2 separate regions of the Homo sapiens genome follow, and region 1 is linked to region 2. Evidence: promoter capture Hi-C in human tissues and cell types (Jung and others, 2019). All regions are on one chromosome and are shown on one strand. Each heading gives the region's core, a stretch centred on a gene start or on the middle of the fragment in contact. The rest is flanking DNA. Distances are from core to core; before and after follow the strand shown.

Evidence for each region. Contacts are between HindIII fragments. The study calls those that stand out against the background at their distance.
Region 1: a fragment that was not itself captured here is called in contact with the fragment with the promoter of IRS2 in region 2 in 1 of the 25 tissues and cell types used here (lymphoblastoid cells).

What each region holds. Positions count from the first base shown.
Region 1 is chr13:109,469,161-109,473,573 of GRCh38, reverse strand. No RefSeq gene overlaps it. Among named protein-coding and RNA genes, the nearest start is that of LINC00399, 71 kb to the right of the region's middle. The HindIII fragment of the contact is 3,607 bases long and covers 1-3,571 here.
Region 2 is chr13:109,784,529-109,788,797 of GRCh38, reverse strand. IRS2 (insulin receptor substrate 2) reads left to right here and starts at 2,215. Exons shown (of 2, transcript NM_003749.3): 1 at 2,215-4,269. The coding sequence starts at 2,745. LOC124903211 (WAS/WASL-interacting protein family member 1-like) reads right to left here and starts at 1,714. Exons shown (of 2, transcript XM_047430835.1): 1 at 1,353-1,714; 2 at 1-1,198. The coding sequence starts at 1,705. The coding sequence ends at 961. RefSeq lists silencers at 1,818-1,987, 2,008-2,237 and an enhancer at 3,079-3,708. The HindIII fragment of the contact is 26,611 bases long and covers 1-4,269 here.

The sequences.
Region 1 (4,413 bases), core at 519-3,018, 310 kb after region 2:
TTCCAGTGTTTGATAACACAGTAGGGCGACTATAGTCAACAATAATTTATCATATATTTCAAAATAGAGGAAAATATTTTAAATGTTCCCAGCACAAAGAAATGATAAATGTTTTAGGTGATTGTTTAGGTGATAATTACCCTGATTTGGTCATTACACATTGTATGTGAACATCCAGATATCACACTTTCCCCATCAACAGGTTCAGTTATGTATCAATACAAATTTTAAAATAAGTACAAAGCTACTGATGAGTGTTTAGCTTTATTTACAAAATTTTTCAAATGTGGGTAAAGATTTTTCAGCCTACCAGCTAAATTCTTTTTATATTTATTCACAGCAGCATTAAATTGGTACATTAGTGATTTCCATTCTTGCTTTGTGACAGAAAAGTACATTTGTAATTATATTTATATAAACATTTCAATCTATTATCAACAAAATGTATTTTAATGCACTTTAATTTAAAAAACAAATCCACTCAGCCATGGTGAAAAAGGTTTATGCAAGGAAGGGAGAATGCTGCAGAGCTAAACACTTGAGAATGAAACACAACTCCAAAAGGCAAGACAATTACAGCCCGGAATCCTCCTCCTGAAGCTTCCTTCAGTCTTTTTCCTTCACTCATTGGCCCCTGTCCTCAGAAACATGCCATCAGCAATGACAAGAACAGCTTAAAAACTTGTTTAGATTTTCAGCCTCCCTCCAAGTTATCCCAGCATTTCTCCTTTATGACTCCATATACAAGACCGGGCTCCCGTTTCTTGAGTTCATTTGGTGAACTGAGCCAGCTCCAGCACAGCACAAGGCTGCCTGTCAGGGCTTAACAAGCATTTGGTCTCACTACACCTCCTTTAGATGGAGCTAAGCATGGTAGCCTCCATTTCATGTCGGGTGTCACATTTGGCAAACACGGGTTTGAGTTTTGATTCTCAGTTCTTTCCTAGCTTCAGACAAATTCCATCTACTACTAGTGATCATTGGGCGTACCTCAGCCCACTGTCTTCCGGTCCCTCGCTTTTCCAGGCAGGGGGTGTCTGAAGCTTCTGTCTTTCTGCGTCTCTGAACAGGCACTGGCTGTCTTCATCCCCTGCTTGTCAGGCACATTGCCGAGGACTGTGTCCTATTTCTGATCATACCCCTCATATTAGAGAGTGTCATGGGCAAATGGAAGTCTAACAAGGTGCTCCTTTCCCCTTCTTCTTCTTCTTTTTTTTCTTCTGTCCTGACCACCTAAGCATGAAATTGGATTCAGGTCTGACTTTCTGCCTTGGATCTGTGCCTTAGAGATTTGTGGCCCTCCTTGGATCCACAGAGGGAAAGGCTACCATTCCTACCAGGGACTCCCTGAAGGCCAGCGGTCCTCCCCTTCCCTGGTCTTGCCCTTGTGGGAATCCATCATGACTCTAGATGTGTGGTTTTTGAGCAAAGTATTCACAAGTGTAAAAAATATAATCTCAATGGTGGCTGCAATAATTGAATTTGGATAACACGTGTGAATAGGCCTAGGACAGGCCTGGTAAACACACAACAATGGTTTTCTTATTTTCTTTCTGAGGATAAATTGTTTAATCTTTAAAATACTTAAATGCTAGACATGACAGCGTTTGGCTTGTAGATACTAGATTATCAAAGGTGATTTTTTTTTTTAAAGAATGCTTGTCTCAGCCTAAACCATGACTTGAAGGACCAGAAGTACAATATATTTTCTCCCTTTTATAGAAATATAGAGGGCACCATGTGTCAAGAGCCTCAGCCACAGCCCAGCTTAACTGGATCGTAAACATTACAAAGTTTTCTGTAAACAGCCATGGTCTCAGGATATCTTTAACCTGGTTTCAGTTGTATGCACTATTAAAATTCTTTCAAAACCAGGCTGAAAGGAAAGGAAATAAGAGATACTAGTATACCCTGGGCTACAGAAACAGAACATTGGATGGATATATAAGACAGATCCCATCTGGGTATTCAACGCATAGGCTCAGGAATTTCTGTCTGTTTTGTTTGATGCTGTAATGCCAACATCTATCATGGTAACTAGCATAATAGATAAAGATGCGCCGAGTGACTGATTTGCATTTGAGAAGGGGGCAACTAAAACTTGAAGGACATTTTTTAAAAGCAGGATTCAATATTGCCTGAGTTTGATATTCCAGTTACAATGCATTCGTTATTCAAAAACATTCTTAAATCTTAAATACAAGCAAACAGAAACTGATATTTCAATTTTCTTTTTACAGTTTTTATTTTCATTTTCCATTTTAGCTTTTGTAACATTATTTGAATGAAGTCACCATCATATTTAAAGTACAAGGTCAGCTGAGCCGAGAAAATAGAACAAAGAAAACAGAACAATTTTTTTTAGAAGGAAATGGCGGTATTCATATTCATAAAAGCAAATTTTAATCCAACAGCGAAAAAGGGAGTTAGAAATACAATGGATATATGTTGGGCAGTGAAGAATTCTTATTGCCATTCTTTGCTGAAAAAATTCATGGATGCATTCATCATTTTCTTCTCTCAAAAATGAAAGCAGTAAAACAAATGAGAGACCTAATTTTTAGTTCAAATAAATGAAAAGAAATGGGCCAAGATCCACTTCATTCCCTGAGAAAAAGAAAGAATACAAATGAGGTTTATTATGAGGCATTTGGAAACTAATGATCTCAAGTCAGCTGCAGGAATGCGCTTTTTGACAGCACATGGTTTATCAGTGTCGTTAGCAGAAAGCTCAGACTTGTGTTGAAGCTCAACTTCATCTAAAAGGATGTACTTTTGGTGCATGAAGTTTCAGCTACATGTGGCCTAACCTGGCCCCCATTCGCGTCTGTTTCTAAAGCATAACTTTGCAAACAGCTCTGAGCCACCATTTTGGTGCAGTCAGCTCAGCCGTGAATGAAGTTCGACATTCCCTTGGGTCAGGCGTGTGTACTTCCGTAAGCACAGACTACACCCTGGGTATCATTCACCTTATTTTAAATACATGCATGTCCTCACAGGGTCATGTGTGTAAGAGTCTGGGCAGGGTGTGTAAGAATCTAGGAAGGGTACCAGCAAATATAAATAAATTAACAAATGATACGACTTAAGAATGTCAGACTACTGTTGTCATCTTTGACTTCCATCTAGAGTCCAGATGAGAAGTGAGATGTGTGTTTTCATGCTTACAATTTCACTTCTCTCTAGCCTCCCCTCTGTATGACCAGACGGAGATTTATCTAACAGTGGCTGTGGGGAAATCTTGCTGTTAAACATTAGATTCCTTCCTAGATACGATTTTGTAGAATGATCATGTTGTGTACAAGGAGAAACTGTCCCAGATTCCTGTGTCATTCATATGGAGACAATGTTTATTTGAAGGACATCATACAAAAAGGGACCCTAGAGGCCCACAGGTAGCCGCAAATACAACATAATCCACGAGAAGACTGTGCGCTCACCTTGCTAGATTCCCAGGTATCACTTGACAGGGGCTGATCTCACTGTGCCCCCGTCCTGTTCATGATACTATTTTACACACACAACACCTCAGTACTTTGGATGAGCTATAATAATTCTGAATTAGAAGGAGCTGGACTAAAGTTTATCCTTAACTAGATATGTTTAAAATGTTATTATGTAGCAAAGAGGAATGGAGAGAAAATTATTTAAATCCATAGTATATATCATATGTCAAAAGAAAATTTGGCTAAAAACTAAAAAAAAAAAAAAACCCTAAAAATTCTTGAAAAACAAGGAACAACATTTTAAAAAGGATTTCTCACAATGTTGGGAGAAGTATGCCAAACACGTAATGAAATTACGGAAAAAAATTTCTCAGTCAGTTCAGCCTACTGTAACAAATTGCTACAGACTGGGTTGCTTCAACAACAAACACTTATTGCTCACAGTTCTGGAGGCTGGAAAGTCCAAGATCCAGGCCCCAGCAAATCTGGTGTCTGGCTTCCTGGTATACAGATGGCCACCTTCTCATTGTGTCCTCATGTGGCAGAAAGCAGAGGGATAAAGCTCTCACGTCTCTCCTTATAAAGCCACTAATCCCATTCAGAGGGCTGCACCCTCAGGACCTAATCATCTCCCAAAGGCTTCACCTCCTAACACCATCACCCTATGGATTAGGATTTCTGCACATGAATTTTGGGAAACACACTTAGTCCGTAACACAAATGGTTGACAGATCTTTTACCATAAAATGTTAACCATATAGAATGTGAAAAACAATAGAAATGAAATGAGTAAGAAAACAATAATAAAGAAGACATTTGCATCCCATATATGAGATAGAGGATTAATACCTATTATAAATAAATGTATTTGCAGATGTGAGAACATTACTAAGATCACAATAAATGAAAGAGCTCAGGAAATGAATGGAAAATTCACAATGGGATATAAATAGTAAAGAGAAATGTC
Region 2 (4,269 bases), core at 966-3,465:
CATCCTCATAAAAGTGGGATGTAAGTGATCACAAAGCCAATAAAACTACACCACATTTTCTTCAAGCACCAAGATAAGAATCCCTTCATCTTTCCTGACTAGACATATTGCTAGGCAACATTTGTGAACGTAAGAAAAGGTAACAAGATCTAAAAAGAACGCCGAAGCATAATGTTCATAAAGGTGGCGCCCCCAACACACACAATCATACACACATACCTATACACACACAATCACACAATCTATTATATAAACAAACACGCACACATGCACACATAGGTGCACAGACTTAAAATGGCATTTCTTGAGGTATTTTTTTTTAAGGTATGATTTAAAAATGGAAGATCAACTTTAAACACACCTTTTTGAGGCACACTGGGTGATATTTGCCACAATGATTATTCTTCCCAAATTCAGGCTACTGATCAATAATCCTAACTGTATACATGCTAAAAATAAAAACGCTATAATCTTTGTACTAGTCAGGGCTCTCTTGGCACATAAAATTAGCCAACACAATCTTCAAGTCACATGTTACAAAAACATATTAAAATATATATCACTCTTTCAAAAATTACACTTATTTTCTCTTAGATTAAGATTTTATTACTTTTAAGATACTTCTATGAATTATAGAGGACATCCAAAAGTAAACATCCGGGACTTAAAAACAATAACCAATATTATAAGATAAATTATTGCTGTAAATTATTTCATGAAGGCACAATTAAAAAAAAAATAAAATAAACAGCCAAAGCCTGTTTTGTTGAGTTTTCTTCGTTGCGCAGGATCGGGAGCTTGCTGGGATCTGAACTCAGGAAGCCCTCACCTCACCCTGACTTGGTCATTGAGGAGACGTAATTGCAGGGGTGCTTATTTGCTATAGGCTTTGAAAGTCACAAAAGCCCAGTAGATACATGAATTCGAAGCAGTTCTCCAAGGGCATCTCCAACTTGGCAGTCACCGCCCGCACCGCGCACACAGGTAGTGGACGCCCGCCCACCTGCCCGTCTGCTGGGCGCAGGGCGCTCCTGGGGTGGGGAGGGCGCTCCTGTGGGGGGAAAAGGGGCGCTCCTGCCTCGGAGGGGGAAAGGACGCCCCTGTGGAAGGAAGGGGGGGCTCTTGAAGCGGTGTGGTGAGAGGACGCTTCCGAGGAAGGAAGGGGGTGCTCCTGCAGCGGTGGGGGGAGAGGACGCCCCTGCGGAAGGAAGGCGGCGCTCCTGCGGGGGCTGGAGAGACGCCCGCGCGGTCTCCCGGCTCAGGGACCGCTGGCTCGCGGGTCCGCCCTCTCCCCGGCGCTATGGAAACCGCACTTTCTCCGCCTGCCGTCCCCGATCTCTTTCTCCTATTACCTCCCAAACGCGATTTCAACTTCCCGACAAGCTGACAAGTGAATGGCGCAGAGGACGCCCCGTAAAGCGCCCGCGAGCGGGTGGGACACAGGCGCCCCCTCCGCGCCCCTCTGTCCTCCACGGAAGGGCGCGCGCCGCTCTCGATCTGGAGCGCGGTGCTCGCGAACCCGCGGCCGCGGGCCCTGGAACCTCCCCGCGTTTCGCGGCTGCGGGGGGACGGAGATGCGGCCGGGAGACGGGGACGGGAAACGGGGGACGGGGATGGGGCGCGCCCACCCCGAGCGCGGGAGCGGCCGCCCTCGCCCAAAATGGGGACCCCGCGCCCCGAGAGCACGGCCCGGCTCGCCGCCCATGCTTCCACTGCAAGGCCGCAGCCCCCGCCGCCGATCCCGATCCCCCGCCCCGCCCAGCCGCGGCCCCGCCCGGCGCCCCCTCCCCGGCGGAAGCTCAAGCCCAATTAATTGAGTCCGAGGCGGGAGGGAAGGGCCCTGCGCGCCGTGGCCCGCCCCGCCCCTCTTCCGCGCCCCTTTTCCCGCCCTGGGTGGCATCTCCTCCGCCGGCATCCACAACAAGCCGCTGATTAATGAGGCCGGGGCCGCCCCACCCCGCCCGGCCGGGCCGGGGCCTTCGCGGGAGGGGGAGGGGACGGCGGGAAACGCGGCCCGGGGAGAAAGGGGGGCGGGGCGGGGGCGCGCGGCCCGCCCCCGCGAGCGCCGCGCCGATTGGCCGAGCGCGCCGTCCGTCGGGGGGCGCGGCGCCAATGCGAGGCAGCGGGGCGGGGCGGCCGCGCTGTGTGTGCCTGCGTAACGCCGAGTCACATGTTGTTTTGCTCTTCTTAGTTCAGTCACTCGGTGCGCGATGTGTTACTCACTGTGCGGCGGGGACCGCGACGAGCCCGGGTCGCCGTTGGCAGCAGCAGCAGCAACACCAGCAGCAGCAGCAGCCCCGGCGGCGGCGCGGACCCCGAGCGCCCGGGCGCACCCCGGCTTCCCGGAGCGCGACGCGGCGGCAGCAGCCCCGGTGCGGCCGCGCGCGCCTTAGGCTCGGCCCCGCGGCTCGGGGACCCCGACTCCCGGCCCAGCGAGCGCGTCCCCCGGCGCCGCCCGAGAGCCCGAGGAGGCAGCGGCCGCAGGCAGCCGGGGAGGGGGGCGGCCACCGCCCGCGCCGGGCATCCTCAGGAGCCCCAGAGCGCGGAGGGCGCGGCGCCGCCGAGCGGTGCTGGCCCCCGCGGGCCTCCCCGGACCTTCCCCACCGCCTGGGCCCGAGGGACGCGTGATCGGGCGGGCGGCCGGGCGCAAGGGTGGGAGGGAGCCGCCCCCGCCCGCGCCCCCTCCGCCCCTCGCCCCAACCCCTGGGCGCCGGGCCCGGGCCGCGCGGCCTGAAGCGCCCGCGATGGCGAGCCCGCCGCGGCACGGGCCGCCCGGGCCGGCGAGCGGAGACGGCCCCAACCTCAACAACAACAACAACAACAACAACCACAGCGTGCGCAAGTGCGGCTACCTGCGCAAGCAGAAGCATGGCCACAAGCGCTTCTTCGTGCTGCGCGGACCCGGCGCGGGCGGCGACGAGGCGACGGCGGGCGGGGGGTCGGCGCCGCAACCGCCGCGGCTCGAGTACTACGAGAGCGAGAAAAAGTGGCGGAGCAAGGCAGGCGCGCCGAAACGGGTGATCGCTCTCGACTGCTGCCTGAACATCAACAAGCGCGCCGACGCCAAGCACAAGTACCTGATCGCCCTCTACACCAAGGACGAGTACTTCGCCGTGGCCGCCGAGAACGAGCAGGAGCAGGAGGGCTGGTACCGCGCGCTCACCGACCTGGTCAGCGAGGGCCGCGCGGCCGCCGGAGACGCGCCCCCCGCCGCCGCGCCCGCCGCGTCCTGCAGCGCCTCCCTGCCCGGCGCCCTGGGCGGCTCTGCCGGCGCCGCCGGGGCCGAGGACAGCTACGGGCTGGTGGCTCCCGCCACGGCCGCCTACCGTGAGGTGTGGCAGGTGAACCTGAAGCCCAAGGGTCTGGGCCAGAGCAAGAACCTGACGGGGGTGTACCGTCTGTGCCTGTCTGCGCGCACCATCGGCTTCGTGAAGCTCAACTGCGAGCAGCCGTCGGTGACGCTGCAGCTCATGAACATCCGCCGCTGCGGCCACTCGGACAGCTTCTTCTTCATCGAGGTGGGCCGCTCGGCCGTCACAGGCCCCGGCGAGCTGTGGATGCAGGCGGACGACTCGGTGGTGGCGCAGAACATCCACGAGACCATCCTGGAGGCCATGAAGGCGCTCAAGGAGCTCTTCGAGTTCCGGCCGCGCAGTAAGAGCCAATCGTCGGGGTCGTCGGCCACGCACCCCATCAGCGTCCCCGGCGCGCGCCGCCACCACCACCTGGTCAACCTGCCCCCCAGCCAGACGGGCCTGGTGCGCCGCTCGCGCACCGACAGCCTGGCCGCCACCCCGCCGGCGGCCAAGTGCAGCTCGTGCCGGGTGCGCACCGCCAGCGAGGGCGACGGCGGCGCGGCGGCGGGAGCGGCGGCCGCGGGCGCCAGGCCGGTGTCGGTGGCTGGGAGCCCCCTGAGCCCCGGGCCGGTGCGCGCGCCCCTGAGCCGCTCGCACACCCTGAGCGGCGGCTGCGGCGGCCGCGGGAGCAAGGTGGCGCTGCTGCCGGCAGGGGGCGCGCTGCAACACAGCCGCTCCATGTCCATGCCCGTGGCGCACTCGCCGCCCGCCGCCACCAGCCCCGGCTCCCTGTCGTCCAGCAGCGGCCACGGCTCGGGCTCCTACCCGCCGCCGCCCGGCCCGCACCCGCCTCTGCCGCATCCGCTGCACCACGGCCCCGGCCAGCGGCCCTCCAGCGGCAGCGCCTCCGCCTCGGGCTCCCCCAGCGACCCCGGCTTCATGTCCCTGGACGAGTACGGCTCCAGCCCAGGCG